3 separate regions of the Homo sapiens genome follow, and all the other regions are linked to region 2. The links are contacts of gene promoters, found by promoter capture Hi-C in human tissues and cell types (Jung and others, 2019). All regions are on one chromosome and are shown on one strand. Each heading gives the region's core, a stretch centred on a gene start or on the middle of the fragment in contact. The rest is flanking DNA. Distances are from core to core; before and after follow the strand shown.

Region 1 (4,315 bases), core at 1,036-3,535, 470 kb before region 2:
ACCTGCAAACAAGAGTAGTCTGACTTTCTTTCTCTTTATCTTGCCTGATTGCTCTGTCCAGTATTTCCAATGCTATGTTGAATAGGAGTGATGAGAGAAGGCATCTTTGTCTTGTGCCAGTTTTCAAAGAGAAATGCTTCCAACTTCTGTGTGTCCATTCAGTGTATTGGCTTTGAGTTTGTGACAGATAACTCATTATTTTGAAGTATGTACCTTTAATGCCTAGTTCGTTGAGGGTTTTAACATGAAGAATGTTAAATTTTCTTGAAAGATTTTTCTGCATCTATTGAGATAATCTTGTGGTTTTGGTCTTTAGTTCTGTTTATGTGATTAATCACATTTATTGATTTGTGTATGTTGAAATAACCTTGCATCCCAGGGATATAGGCTACTTGATCATAGTAGATTAGCTTTTTGATGTGCTGCTGGATTCAGTTTGCCAGTATTTTGTTGAGAATTTTTCCATCATTTTTTATTAAGATCATTGGCATGAAGTTTTCTTTTTTTGTTTTATACCAGGTTTTGGTATCAGAATAATGCTATTATGTAATGAGTTGGGGAAGAGTTCCTTCTCAATTTTTTGGAATGGCTCTAGTAAGAATGGTATCAGCTTTTTTTTTTTTGTACATCTGGTAGAATTCTTTTGTGAATATGTCTGATTCTGGTTTTTTATTGGTTTCTAGGCTATTTATTATACTTCAATTTTGAATCTTGTTGGTCTCTTCAGGGATACTTTTTTTTTTTTTTTCAGTCTTTGGAGGATGTACGTGTCTAGGAATTGATCTATTCTAGATTTTCCGGTTTGTTTACATAGAGGTGTTCGTTACAGACTTGAATAATTATTTTGTTGTTGTTGGGTCAGTGTTAATGGCCATTTTGTCATTTCTAATCGTGTTTATTTGGATCTTCTCTTTCTTCATTAATCTCTCTAGAGTGCTATTTATCTTATTAATTCTTTCAAAGATTTTACTCCTGGATTTCTTTTTTTGTTTGTTTGTTTGTTTTTTGTTTTGTTTTTTTTTTTCATTTTGTTTTTGAAACAGAATCTCTCTCTATTGCCCAGGCTGGAGTGCAGTGGCACAACCTTGCCTCACTGCAACCTCCGCCTCACTGCAACCTCCGCCTCCCTGGTTCAAGCAATTCTCCTGCCTCAGCCTCCTGAGTAGCTGGGATTACAGGTGCCCACCAATACACATGGCCAATTTTTGTATTTTTAGTAGAGACCGGGTTTCACTATTTTGCCAGGCTGGTCTCGAACTCCAGACCTCAAGTGATCTGCCCACCTCGGCCTCCCAAAATGCTGCGATTACAGGGGTGAGCCACTGCACCCAGCCTTCTCCATATTTTTATCATTTTTTTGTCTAACTCTCCAGTTCAGATCTGATTTTCATTTCTTGTCCTCTGTTAGCTTAGAGGTCAGTTTGCTTTTTCTTCTCTTGTTCTTTTATGATGTCAGGTTTTGTGTTTTTTTGTTTTTTGAGACGGAGCTCAATGAATCCAATGTCTACTGAAATTCAGATGTTCAAGAGTTCAATATGTCCAGAGACCTGGCTGTTGTAAAAGAAAATATAAATCAGAGGCTTTATTATCCTACCTGAAAATAAGAGAGACTATCTTGTTCAACTCTTTTATCTTAAAGCATTTAGATTATATGGAGATATTTTTATTGCTTTTTTGAAATATATTTAAATCATATTAACAGCCAAATCTTTTGGCATTCTTTTGACTCAAGATTGTCTTTATTTAAGACCTCAGATTCATTGCTTATCCTTGATTTGGGAAAATTTAATTTTTTTTTTAGTCTTTTAAAGTAGACACAGATTTGTTTAGATTAAAGCTCATTTTAAGAGCACACAGAAGTTTAGTACGAAGAACGAATTAAATTTAGAAATACAGAATGGTAAAAACTAAAAAATACTGAATAAATTTCTTTGACAGAAAACTGATAATCCAAGGTAATCTAATATTTGCAGGCTGAAGTACTTACACTGCAAAAGCAAGAACAGTTCAGTGTGTAAACTCAACCTTGGAGTCTGTGTAGTTTTTTTTGTGTGTGGTGTTTTTTGTTTTTTTTTCCTTTGTGATGGAGTCTCACTCTGTCACCCAGGCTCGAGTGCAGTGGCACGATCTCGGTTCACTGTGACCTCTGCCTCATGGGTTCAAGCGATTCTCCTGCCTTAGCCTCCTGAGTAGCTGGAGTAGCTGGGACTACAGGCACGTGCCACCACGTCCGGCTAATTTTTTTTTTTTTTTTTTTTTTTTTTTTTTTTTGAGACAGAGTCTCTCTCTTTCGCCCAGGCTGGAGTGCAGTGGCGCCATTTTGGCTCACTGCGATCTCCGCCTCCCTGGTTCACGCCATTCTCCTGGCTCAGCCTCCCAAGTAGCTGGGAGTATAGGCGCCCGCCAGGGCACCCGGCTATTTTTTTGTATTTTTAGTAGAGACGGGGTTTCACCGTGTTAGCCAGGATGGTCTCGATCTCCTGACCTCGTGATCTGCTCGCTGCGGCCTCCCAAAGTGCTGGGATTACAGGCGTGAGCCACCGCGTCCGGCTGTATTTTTTTTTTTTCCTTAAATTTACTTTTTTTGAGACGGAGTTTCACTCCTGTTGCCCAGGCTGGAGTACAATGGCATGATCTCAGCTTACTGCAACCTCCGCCTACTGGGTTCAAGTGATTCTCCTGCCTCAGCCTCCTGAGTAGCTGGGGTTACAGGCATGTGCCACCATGCCTGGCTAAATTTTGTACTTTTAGAGTAGAGACAGGGTTTCTCCATGTTGGTCAGGCTGGTCTCGAACTCCTGACCTCAGGTGATCCACCCGCCTCAGCTTCCCAAAGTATTGGGATTACAGGCATGAGCCACCGCGCCTGGCCTAATTTTTTGTATTTTTATGAGAGATGGGGTTTCACCGTGTTAGCCAGGATGGTCTCAATCTCCTGACCTTGTGGTATGCCCGCCTTGGCCTCCCAAAGTGCTGGGATTACAGGCATGAATCACCATGCCTAGCCTAAATAGTTATTTTAATATTCTTACTCATACTTTGAAATATAAAGTAGTTTTAACTGAAATATGGTTACAAACAATTTTTTAGAATACTACATACATTATGACTAGTACATTAAAGTTGGTTATACTTAGATATTTATATCTAATATCCAAAGAAAAGTCACTACCAAATTGTTACAATAGATATTAGTCTGACATGCTTATTAATTTATCCAATATGGATAATTACAGGGAAGCTTAATTTTAGTGTCTTTCATTTAACTAAATTGGAATGCTGCTATTACAGGACAGATAAAAACAGGTCAGGTGGCCACTCAAAAAATATAGTAGCTCTTCAGAGGCTGGGTACGGTGCCTTACGCCTGTAATCCCAGCACTTTGGAAGGCTGAGGCGGGTGGATCACCTGAGGTTGGGATTTCAAGGCCAGTCTGACCAACATGGAGAAACTCCAACTTTACTAAAAATACAAAATTAGCCATACATTGTGGTGCATGCCTGTAATCCTAGCTACTTGGGAGGCTGAGACAGGAGAATTGCTTGAACCTGGGAGGCGGAGGTTGCAGTGAGCCGAGATTGTGCCATTGCACTCCAGCCTGGGAAACAAAAGCTCAACTCCATCTCAAAAAAAAAAAAAAAATGGCCAGGCGCAGTAGCTCACACCTGTAATCCCAGCACTTTGGGAGGCCAAGGTGGGTGGATCACTTGAGGTTGGGAATTCAAGACCTGCTTGACCAACATGGAGAAACCCTGTCTCTGCCAAAAATAGAAAAATTAGCCAGGTATGGTGGTGCATGCCTGTAATCCCAGCTACTTGGGAGGCTGAGGCAGGAGAATCACTTAAACCTGGGAGGCGGAGGTTGCAGTGAGCCAAGATCGCACCATTGAACTCCAGCCTGGGCAACAAGAGGGAAACTTCATTTCAAAAAAAAAAAAACCACATAGTAGCTCTTCAGTTAGCAGTGTTGCAAGCTTGAATATATTACACTATATGAATAAACTCAAGATTTCAATTCTTCATCAAAAGGTGCATGTGGAAATTGTGAGATGTATTCCAATATGGAACTCCCATCCAATGGCTAGGAGATGAGACAGCAGCAGACATGGAAGAGAAACCTTAGAAAATTCTGCTGAGAATATATATTTTTTTCATAATGCTCATGTTTCTTGTGCTGAGAGTAGCTGTGCACTTCGTTTAGAGAGAAATTTGTTTAAGGGGAGTATTTTTGGTTGACTTGATCAATCTTTCATCTAATCTAAGTTTTTTCTTAAGATGCTTTGAACTTCTTTTTTTTTTTCTCAATACAGTGTTAC
Region 2 (3,971 bases), core at 593-3,092:
AAAAAGAAAAGAAAAAAGCACCATTTAATGCCTTGCCAAAAAATAATTAATTAAAATACGGTATAAAAAAGTACACTACAAAATAAGTGGCCAGGCCCGGTGGCTCACGCCTGTAATTCCAGCACTTTGGCAAGCTGATGCGGGCGGATCACCTGAGGTCAGGAGTTCGAGACCAGCCTGGCCAGCATGGTGAAACCCCCGTCTTTACAAAAACACAAAAATTAGCCAGGTATGATGGCGCGCACCTGTAATCCCAGCTACTAAGGAGGCTGAAGTGGGAGAATTGTTTAAAACCGGGAGGCGGAGGTTGAGGTGAGCCGAGATCGCGCCATTGCACTCCAGCCTGGGAGACAGAGCGAGACTCCATCTCAAAAACAAAACAAAACAAACAAAAAAACACAAATACGTGATAATGTGAATTAGGGAGGAAAAGCTGGCATTTGGGAACCCCAGAAGAAATTGGAAATTTAGTATCTTACTGCAAGCAAGAATGAGGTTGGAGTAATGAGGGATGGGGGTTAGACTTAAGACCCTGATTGGGACCCAGGTGAAAAATGCAGCAGAAAATCAGTTCCCTGTGGAGTGTGAAAATAATTAAGTGGCAGGCAATTAGACTGAGGTTTCTCTAGTCCCTGGGTTCCTACTTCAATTTAAAAAATCTAACTCAGGCGCATTATTTTTAATTACTAAATTCAGAGAAACAAAATTGAGGCTTCACCTACTATAAACTGCCAATTGAGCTCCGATTACATAACCAGGAAATTTTCACCTTTAATGTACAAATTAAAAAACCACGTAACTGTACCTAACCAATTACTAAATTTGGTTTTCTTCATCATGCATTTTACAAAAGACTTTCTTTCAAGCCTCTCCCATAGACCACAAACTAAAAACCACAGCTTGGTGCTCTACAATTCTAGAACCACTTTTTGATTAAATTATTTAATAAGTTAATTTTTTTTTTGAGACAAGAGTCTCGCTCTGTCGCCCAGGCTGGAGTGCAGTGGCACGATCTCGGCTCACTGCAAGCTCTGCCTCCTGGGTTCACGCCATTCTCCTGCCTCAGCCTCCTGAGTAGCTGGGACTACAGGCGCCCGCCACCACGCCCGGCTCATTTTTTGTATTTTTAGTAGAGACGGGGTTTCACCGTGTTAGCCAGGATGGTCTTGATCTCCTGACCTCTGATCCGCCCACCTCGGCCTTCCAAAGTGCTGGGATTACAGGCGTGAGCCACCGCGCCCAGCCTAGAACCACTCTTTGATTAAATTCTTTTAATATTTTTGCAGTGACTCCCATTAACTTTTAATAGGAGATAATAGGAACTGGGAACCCCACGGAACAAACCTCTTCCCATTCATGAACCCGCACCCCAAGTCAGGATTCTCCCCTGACGACCCTCCCACGGTCCCTGCACAATCCGGTAGAGAAGCGGCGCTGCGGGTGCAGAGATTCCCCAGAGAGGGCTCCAGGCAAGGGCACAGTCACTATGCAGGGAAGAGACAGGACGCCCGGGGGCCGGGCTGTCGGCGCAACCGCCATCTTATGGCTGAAGGCGACTGAGGCCGAGCTGGGCAAGGAGAACTCGGGGCGCAGATTGTAGAGCTGACTGCGGGGAGGCCTGAGTCTCGCCACAGCCACTTCCCACCGGTTCCAACCAGCCCTTCCCCTCTCTCGGGATGTTGGACCCCGCACTCTCACCATTTCTAGGCTTCCAGGGTGTCCCGGCGTCTTAGCTGTGGATTCCCAATACCTGCAGGTCACAGGACCAGAGGCTGGGCCTCTAGGAGCAGAGGACACAGAGCAGTGAAGACGAGACCCGGAGTTCCAGCGGCAGCCAAAGACAAAGAAGCGGACAAATCCCGCCACATCCCGGAAGCCGTCCTCTCCGCTCAAGCTGCGTGCCTGATTGGACAGTTCCCAGCCCAGCGTCGCTGATTGGATAACGTTTAAAACCCCACCCTCTCAGGCCCTGACTGACAGAAGATGTAATTAGATGCTGGGCTGAATGAAGAAAGAGTGACCGCCTAGGCTGCAGCCTTTTCAGGCAGGGCTTCCTCCTTGAGCTGAGATAGGCCCACCCCAAAGGGTATTTGCATTCAACCTTGCGTATAAGGTCATATGCATTTGTAAATACTATATCATATGGCTATACATAAATGAAAAGGATATAATAACAAATGTTTTAAAATTTCAGGGTTTTTTTACTTTCCTGGCTTACGGTCCTTTGAGCAGGCAGCCTGAGATTTTAAAAAGGAGGTAATCCTCTGAAATAAAATGTGAGCCACGTGAATTTTGAATTTTCTGGTAGCCAAACTAGAAAATTAAAAAGAAACAAGGGGCCAGGCATGGTGGCTCACGCCTGTAATCCTAGGACTTTAGGAGTACAAGGCGGGCAGATCAAGAGGTCAGGAGTTTGAGACCAGCCTGGCTAACATGGTGAAACCACGTCTCTACTAAAAATACAAAAATTAGCCGGGCGTGGTGGTGGACATCTGTAATCCCAGCTACGCAGGAGGCTGAGGCAGGAGAATTGCTTGAACCCGGGAGGCGGAGGAGGTTGCAGTGAGCAGAGATCGCGCCACTGCACTCCAGCCTGGGCGGACAGAGCGAGACTCCGTTTTGGGGGGTGAAAAATATAAAGAAACAAGAGGCCACGCGCAGTGGCTCACGCCTGTAATCCCAGCACTTTGGGAGGCCGAGGCTGGTGGATCACGAGATCAAGTGATTGAGACCCTCCTGGCAATATGGCTAAACCCTGTCTCTACTGAAAAAAATATAAAAATTAGCCAGGCGTGGTGGCGCATGCCTGTAATCCCAGCTACTGGGGAGGCTGAGGCAGGAGAATCGCTTGAACCCGGGAGGCAGAGGTTGCAGTGAGCCGAGATTGCGCCACTGCACTCCAGCCTAGTGACAGACTGCAACAACAGCAACAACAACAACAACAATAACAAGGAACAGGTTGAATTGATTGTAACAATGTAATTAACCTAATATATACAAAATATCATTTTAATGTGTGAGGAATATGTAATTATTAATGAAGTATATAAATATTTGCAACTAAATTTTTGAAAATAACTCTGTGTTTTACCTTTCTAGCATATCGCGGTTCAGACCAAGCACATTCCAGGCACCCAGGAGCCACACATGGCAGCTCTGATGTCAATGGTGTGAAGGGCCAGAGGGGAAGGAAGGGCCTCTCCCTACTAACATCTATCTTCAGTTCTGAGGTTGGAACAGATAGTGGCCATAGAAAGAGCTGAGGGCAGCAGAAATAAAATAACCACAGGTAAACCACTGCTTACCACCTGTTGCCCACCTTTCTTTTAGAGATTAGGCTGTGAACATAGGATGATGGAGCTTAGGAGAAAAAAACTCTGTGTCTTCAGTTCTGCCCACATTCTTGGACTCCAGTGTTTAGATACAGAGAAAATAGATTAAAGGCAAACTTATTTTGCTATTTGGCCTTGACCCTAATTGCGAGGCTGTGGTTATCTGTTTTCTCCTGTGGTGTGGGGACTGTGCGAATATAAACACCAATCACATGCATACATGTCTCCCAGTATTTCTGCATTACCCAACATTCTCTTTCAAGACATCCAACTTTAAATTAGGGGAAGAAATCAGTACCTAGAGGGTGCCCACTGTTAGAAGGCAACAAGTAATCAACCTGTCACTGAATCCTGGCATCCTATCTGCACTGGTGCATGTATTAGTTAGCTATTGCAGCATAACAAATCATCCAAAACTTACTAGTTTATAATTAAGATGATCAGCCATTTAGGCTGGGTGAGTGGGGCCGTTCTTCTGGTATCAGCTGAGCTCTTTCAGACTGGTATCATCAGCTGCTTGTTGACTAGCCAGCTGTACTTCTGGGGGTGATCTTCTGCTTCTGGGGCTCAACAGGGGCACCTTGCTTCTCCTCCTCATGGTATCTTATTTTTAAGCTTGCTAACATGGGCTTTATTCAT
Region 3 (4,357 bases), core at 235-2,734, 370 kb before region 2:
ATATTGCCTTATTTTGTATACATTGTAATCCTTGATTGAAATTTGGACATTAAAAAAGGCTACCTGTCACAATCTTTATAATGTAGCTTTGTCCTGGCATAGTCTGAACAATCGTCTTGGTTAGAGATTCTGGGAGTCTCTCAAACATGTTCTTAGAATGTGTCTTGTCTGAGATTTTGTCTTTCTCTTTTAGTTAAAGGAGTTTATTCATGTTTCTTCTTAATAATAATCACGTGCTACACCTGTTTTCTGTCTGTGGTACAGCAGTCTCTCTGTTGCTGAAACATTTACCTTTGGTCTCAGCAAAGTTAAGACTGTCACTCCAAAGTATACCACCGTTTCTTTCAGCATTATATTTCAAGAGAGACACAAACCAGTGTCTGGAAAGGCTCCTAGAAGCAAGTAATAAAGATAAATGTGCCAGTATTTTACTTGTCATTAAAAACAAGTTGGCAATTTACTTCTAAAGACAGTATGTTATATTGGGGAGCAGAAAGAGCTCTGTTGGGTAAATGTACAGACTTTTACTTCTAAGTGGCTCTTTGCATTGTTCTCACCAGGGGCACTTCACACACTTAACTCATTTATAATTTTTTTCAGATGTAATTTGGTTGGTTTTTTTTTTTTTACATTTATATGTCTATAAAGGAATGAGGGCCTTTGGTATTTTCCTATGCCATCTTATTTATGTAGTTTGTATATTAGAGGTTAGATTTGTAAACTATCTGTGTCTAGTAAGTAAAGTAATTTGTTATTTTTATTTCTTTCAGTTATATGTTCTCATTTTCCCCAAGACCTTTGGGCAGAGCAGGACATTAAAGATTCTTTTCAAGAAGCGATTCTGAAAAAATATGGAAAATATGGACATGACAATTTACAGTTACAAAAAGGCTGTAAAAGTGTGGATGAGTGTAAAGTGCACAAAGAACATGATAACAAATTAAACCAGTGTTTGATAACTACCCAGAGCAACATATTTCAATGTGATCCATCTGCAAAAGTCTTTCATACATTTTCAAATTCAAACAGACATAAGATAAGACATACTAGAAAGAAACCTTTCAAATGTAAAAAATGTGAAAAATCATTTTGCATGCTTTTACACCTAACTCAACATAAAAGATTTCATATTACAGAGAATTCCTACCAATGTAAAGATTGTGGCAAAGCCTTCAACTGGTTCTCAACCCTTACTACACACAGGAGAATTCATACTGGAGAGAAACCCTACAAATGTGAAGAATGTGGGAAAGCATTTAACCGGTCCTCACACCTTACTACACATAAGATAATTCATACTGGAGAGAAACCATACAGATGTGAAGAATGTGGGAAAGCTTTTAACCGGTCTTCACACCTTACTACACATAAAAGAATTCATACTGGAGTGAAACCCTACAAATGTACAGAATGTGGCAAAGCTTTTAACCGGTCCTCACACCTTACTACACACAGGATAATTCATACTGGAGAGAAACCCTACAAATGTGAAGAATGTGGCAAAGCCTTTAACCAGTCCTCAACCCTTACTACACATAAGATAACTCATGCTGGAGAGAAACCTTACAAATGTGAAGAATGTGGCAAAGCTTTTTACCGATTCTCATACCTTACTAAACATAAGACAAGTCATACTGGAGAGAAATTCTACAAATGTGAAGAATGCGGCAAAGGCTTTAACTGGTCCTCAGCCCTCACTAAACATAAGAGAATTCATACTGGAGAGAAACCCTACAAATGTGAAGAATGTGGCAAAGCTTTTAATGAGTCCTCAAACCTTACTACCCATAAGATGATTCATACTGGAGAGAAACCCTACAAATGTGACGAATGTGGCAAAGCCTTTAACCGGTCCTCACAACTAACTGCACATAAGATGATTCATACTGGAGAGAAACCCTACAAATGTGAGGAATGTGGCAAAGCTTTTAACCGATCCTCAACCCTTACTAAACATAAGATAACTCATACTGGAGAGAAATCTTACAAATGGGAAGAATGTGGTAAAGACTTTAACCAGTCCCTAAGCCTTATTAAACAAAATAACTCATACTGGAGAGAAACCCTACAAATGTGAAAAATGTGGCAAAGCCTTTTACCAGTCCTCAACTCTTACTAAACATAAAAAAATTCATACTGGAGGGAACTCCTGTGACTGTGAAGAATATGGCAAAGCCTTTAATAAATTCTCAATTCCTAACAGACATAAGATAATTCATACTAGAGAGAAATTCTACAAACCAGAAAGATGTGACAGTGCTTTGAAAACACCTCAAACTTTTCAAAACATAAATCATAGTGTTGAGAAATCCTAGAAATGTGAAGAATGTGATAAAGTTTTAAATGGTTGTCACACTTGATTGTAGGTAAGGTAAGTTATACTGGAGAAAACTTCTACATGTGTGAACAGTGTGACAAAACTTTTAACTAATGCTCACACCTTCACAGGAAAGCATTTATACTTGAGAAATATTGTACAAATATAAAGACTGTGAAAAAGCCATTAATACATGCTCACATCTTACTCAACATCAGAGAGTTCATACTCAATAAAAACATAAGTGCAACTACTGTCAAAATATCTTTAAGAAAATATAAGCTTTTAAAGTGAAGAGTATTTTGAAGAAGAACATTGTAGTAGAATTGTAATATGTTTACTTGTATCACAGATCTTACTGTACACGTTTTGTATTAGAGGAAACCTCTGAAGCAGTTGCTCAAACTTTGTTCAATATCAGGGAATTTATATTGAAAAAAACTGTGCGAATGTAATAAAGTTGGAAAAATACTTTTTCAAAAACTACAGCTTAGAAAACACCAGAGAGTTCATACTAAAACATATTTTTGCAGATACAGGAAAAATTTTTTAAAAATTTTAATCATTAAGTCTGTAAATATCAGAGAATTTACAGTAGAAATATGTAAGGCACTGATGCTTCAGGTATTTTACTAAATCAGAGTGCTGAGTATAGAAAATAATCTAAAACTAAAATTGGTAAAATATTTGTATATAACTTTAAAAGTAGAAATTTTTTGCAGTTATTGCATTCAAAGTATGCTTAACTTTTTGAAAAAATTAGATTTTTTGAAAAGTGAGTAATAATGTAATTCAACTCTTAAATTATTTCCTGCCTTTTCTTCACTCCTATTTACATGTGAAAGCATGTGATCAATTGTTGCTGCATCAGATATGAGAGATTCTTTTTTATTAGGTGAGCATTATTTATAAACTTTGCTATGAAAAAGACATTAAAATATGAGATGTATGATGAAAATCTAAGTGAAGAGACTTTTATGGTTAACTTATAATATTAAGCAATGTGTGCGTTAGGCATTCAGAGTAATATTCTGCATTATGAGAAAACTTAATTTCATTTATAAGTAAATTAAAATTAGTATATTTTACTAATACTTTTATATAAAATGCAGTATATTTTTTAAATTTCAGATTATATGTGATGTTAATATATTCAACCTTTTTAACATGTTAAATACTATTGTGCATTCAGTGAAGTGTTATTATGCCACAGACATTAACCTATTCCACCTTACTCAAGGGTGTACGTAAAACATGGTAACAGTATACTATTTGGTAACATAATGGATTAACATCTCTAGTAATCTCTTTTGCTAGTGGCTTTGACTGCAAATAAGTTAAAGAATATTATTTCTGTAGGTTAAATTTTTGTTTTTATTTTATTTTATTTTTGAGAGGTAGTCTTGCTCTGTCACCCAGGCTGGAGTGCAGTGGCACGATCTCGGCTCACTGTAACCTCCACCTCCTGGGTTCACGCAATTCTCCTGCCTCAGCCTCCTAAGTAGCTGGGATTACAGGCACCCACCACCATGCCCAGCTAATTTTTGTATTTTAGTAGAGACAGGGTTTCATAATGTAAGTCAAGCTGGTCTCGAACTCCTGACCTTAAATGATTTGCCTGCCTCGGCTTCCCAAAGTTCTGGGATTACAGGCATGAGCCACCGTGCCCAGCCAAATGTTTATTTTATTTAAATTTATTTTTCTTAATTATTTGGGGTACATAATATGAGTATATATTCATGCAATATATGGCATATTTTGATACAAGAATACAGTATATAATAATCACATCAGGGTAAATGAGGTATCCATCACCTCTAGTATTTATCCTTTGTATTACAAGCAACCCAGTTTTATACTTTTAGTTATTTTAAAATGTAAAATTAAATTGTTATTGATTACAGTGTTATTTTTATGGTCATAATAAAAGTTATGTAGAAGTATAATAAAATCCCTACATTTCTGAGGCCTGAATAAGTATTTTTAAAGTTTTCTAATATTTATTTTTTGAGCATGTTTCCTGTCTGCCTGCAAACACAT

What was found. Contacts are between HindIII fragments. The study calls those that stand out against the background at their distance.
Region 1: a contact is called between a fragment that was not itself captured here and the fragment with the promoter of ZNF738 in region 2, in 1 of the 25 tissues and cell types used here (H1 embryonic stem cells).
Region 3: a fragment that was not itself captured here is called in contact with the fragment with the promoter of ZNF738 in region 2 in 1 of the 25 tissues and cell types used here (mesenchymal stem cells).

What each region holds. Positions count from the first base shown.
Region 1 is chr19:21,826,989-21,831,303 of GRCh38, reverse strand. The region is part of intron 1 of ZNF43 (zinc finger protein 43); the gene reads left to right. It also overlaps the pseudogene BNIP3P27. Among named protein-coding and RNA genes, the nearest start is that of ZNF43, 7.0 kb to the left of the region's middle. The HindIII fragment of the contact is 5,891 bases long and covers 1-4,315 here.
Region 2 is chr19:21,356,871-21,360,841 of GRCh38, reverse strand. ZNF738 (zinc finger protein 738) reads right to left here and starts at 1,842. Exons shown (of 5, transcript NM_001355237.2): 1 at 1,699-1,842. The coding sequence starts at 1,701. RefSeq lists enhancers at 1,481-1,780, 2,572-3,129. The HindIII fragment of the contact is 7,981 bases long and covers 1-3,971 here.
Region 3 is chr19:21,724,403-21,728,759 of GRCh38, reverse strand. It overlaps ZNF100 (zinc finger protein 100), which reads left to right. Exons shown (of 5, transcript NM_173531.4): 5 at 771-4,357. The coding sequence ends at 2,077. Among named protein-coding and RNA genes, the nearest start is that of ZNF100, 41 kb to the left of the region's middle. The HindIII fragment of the contact is 4,592 bases long and covers 1-3,780 here.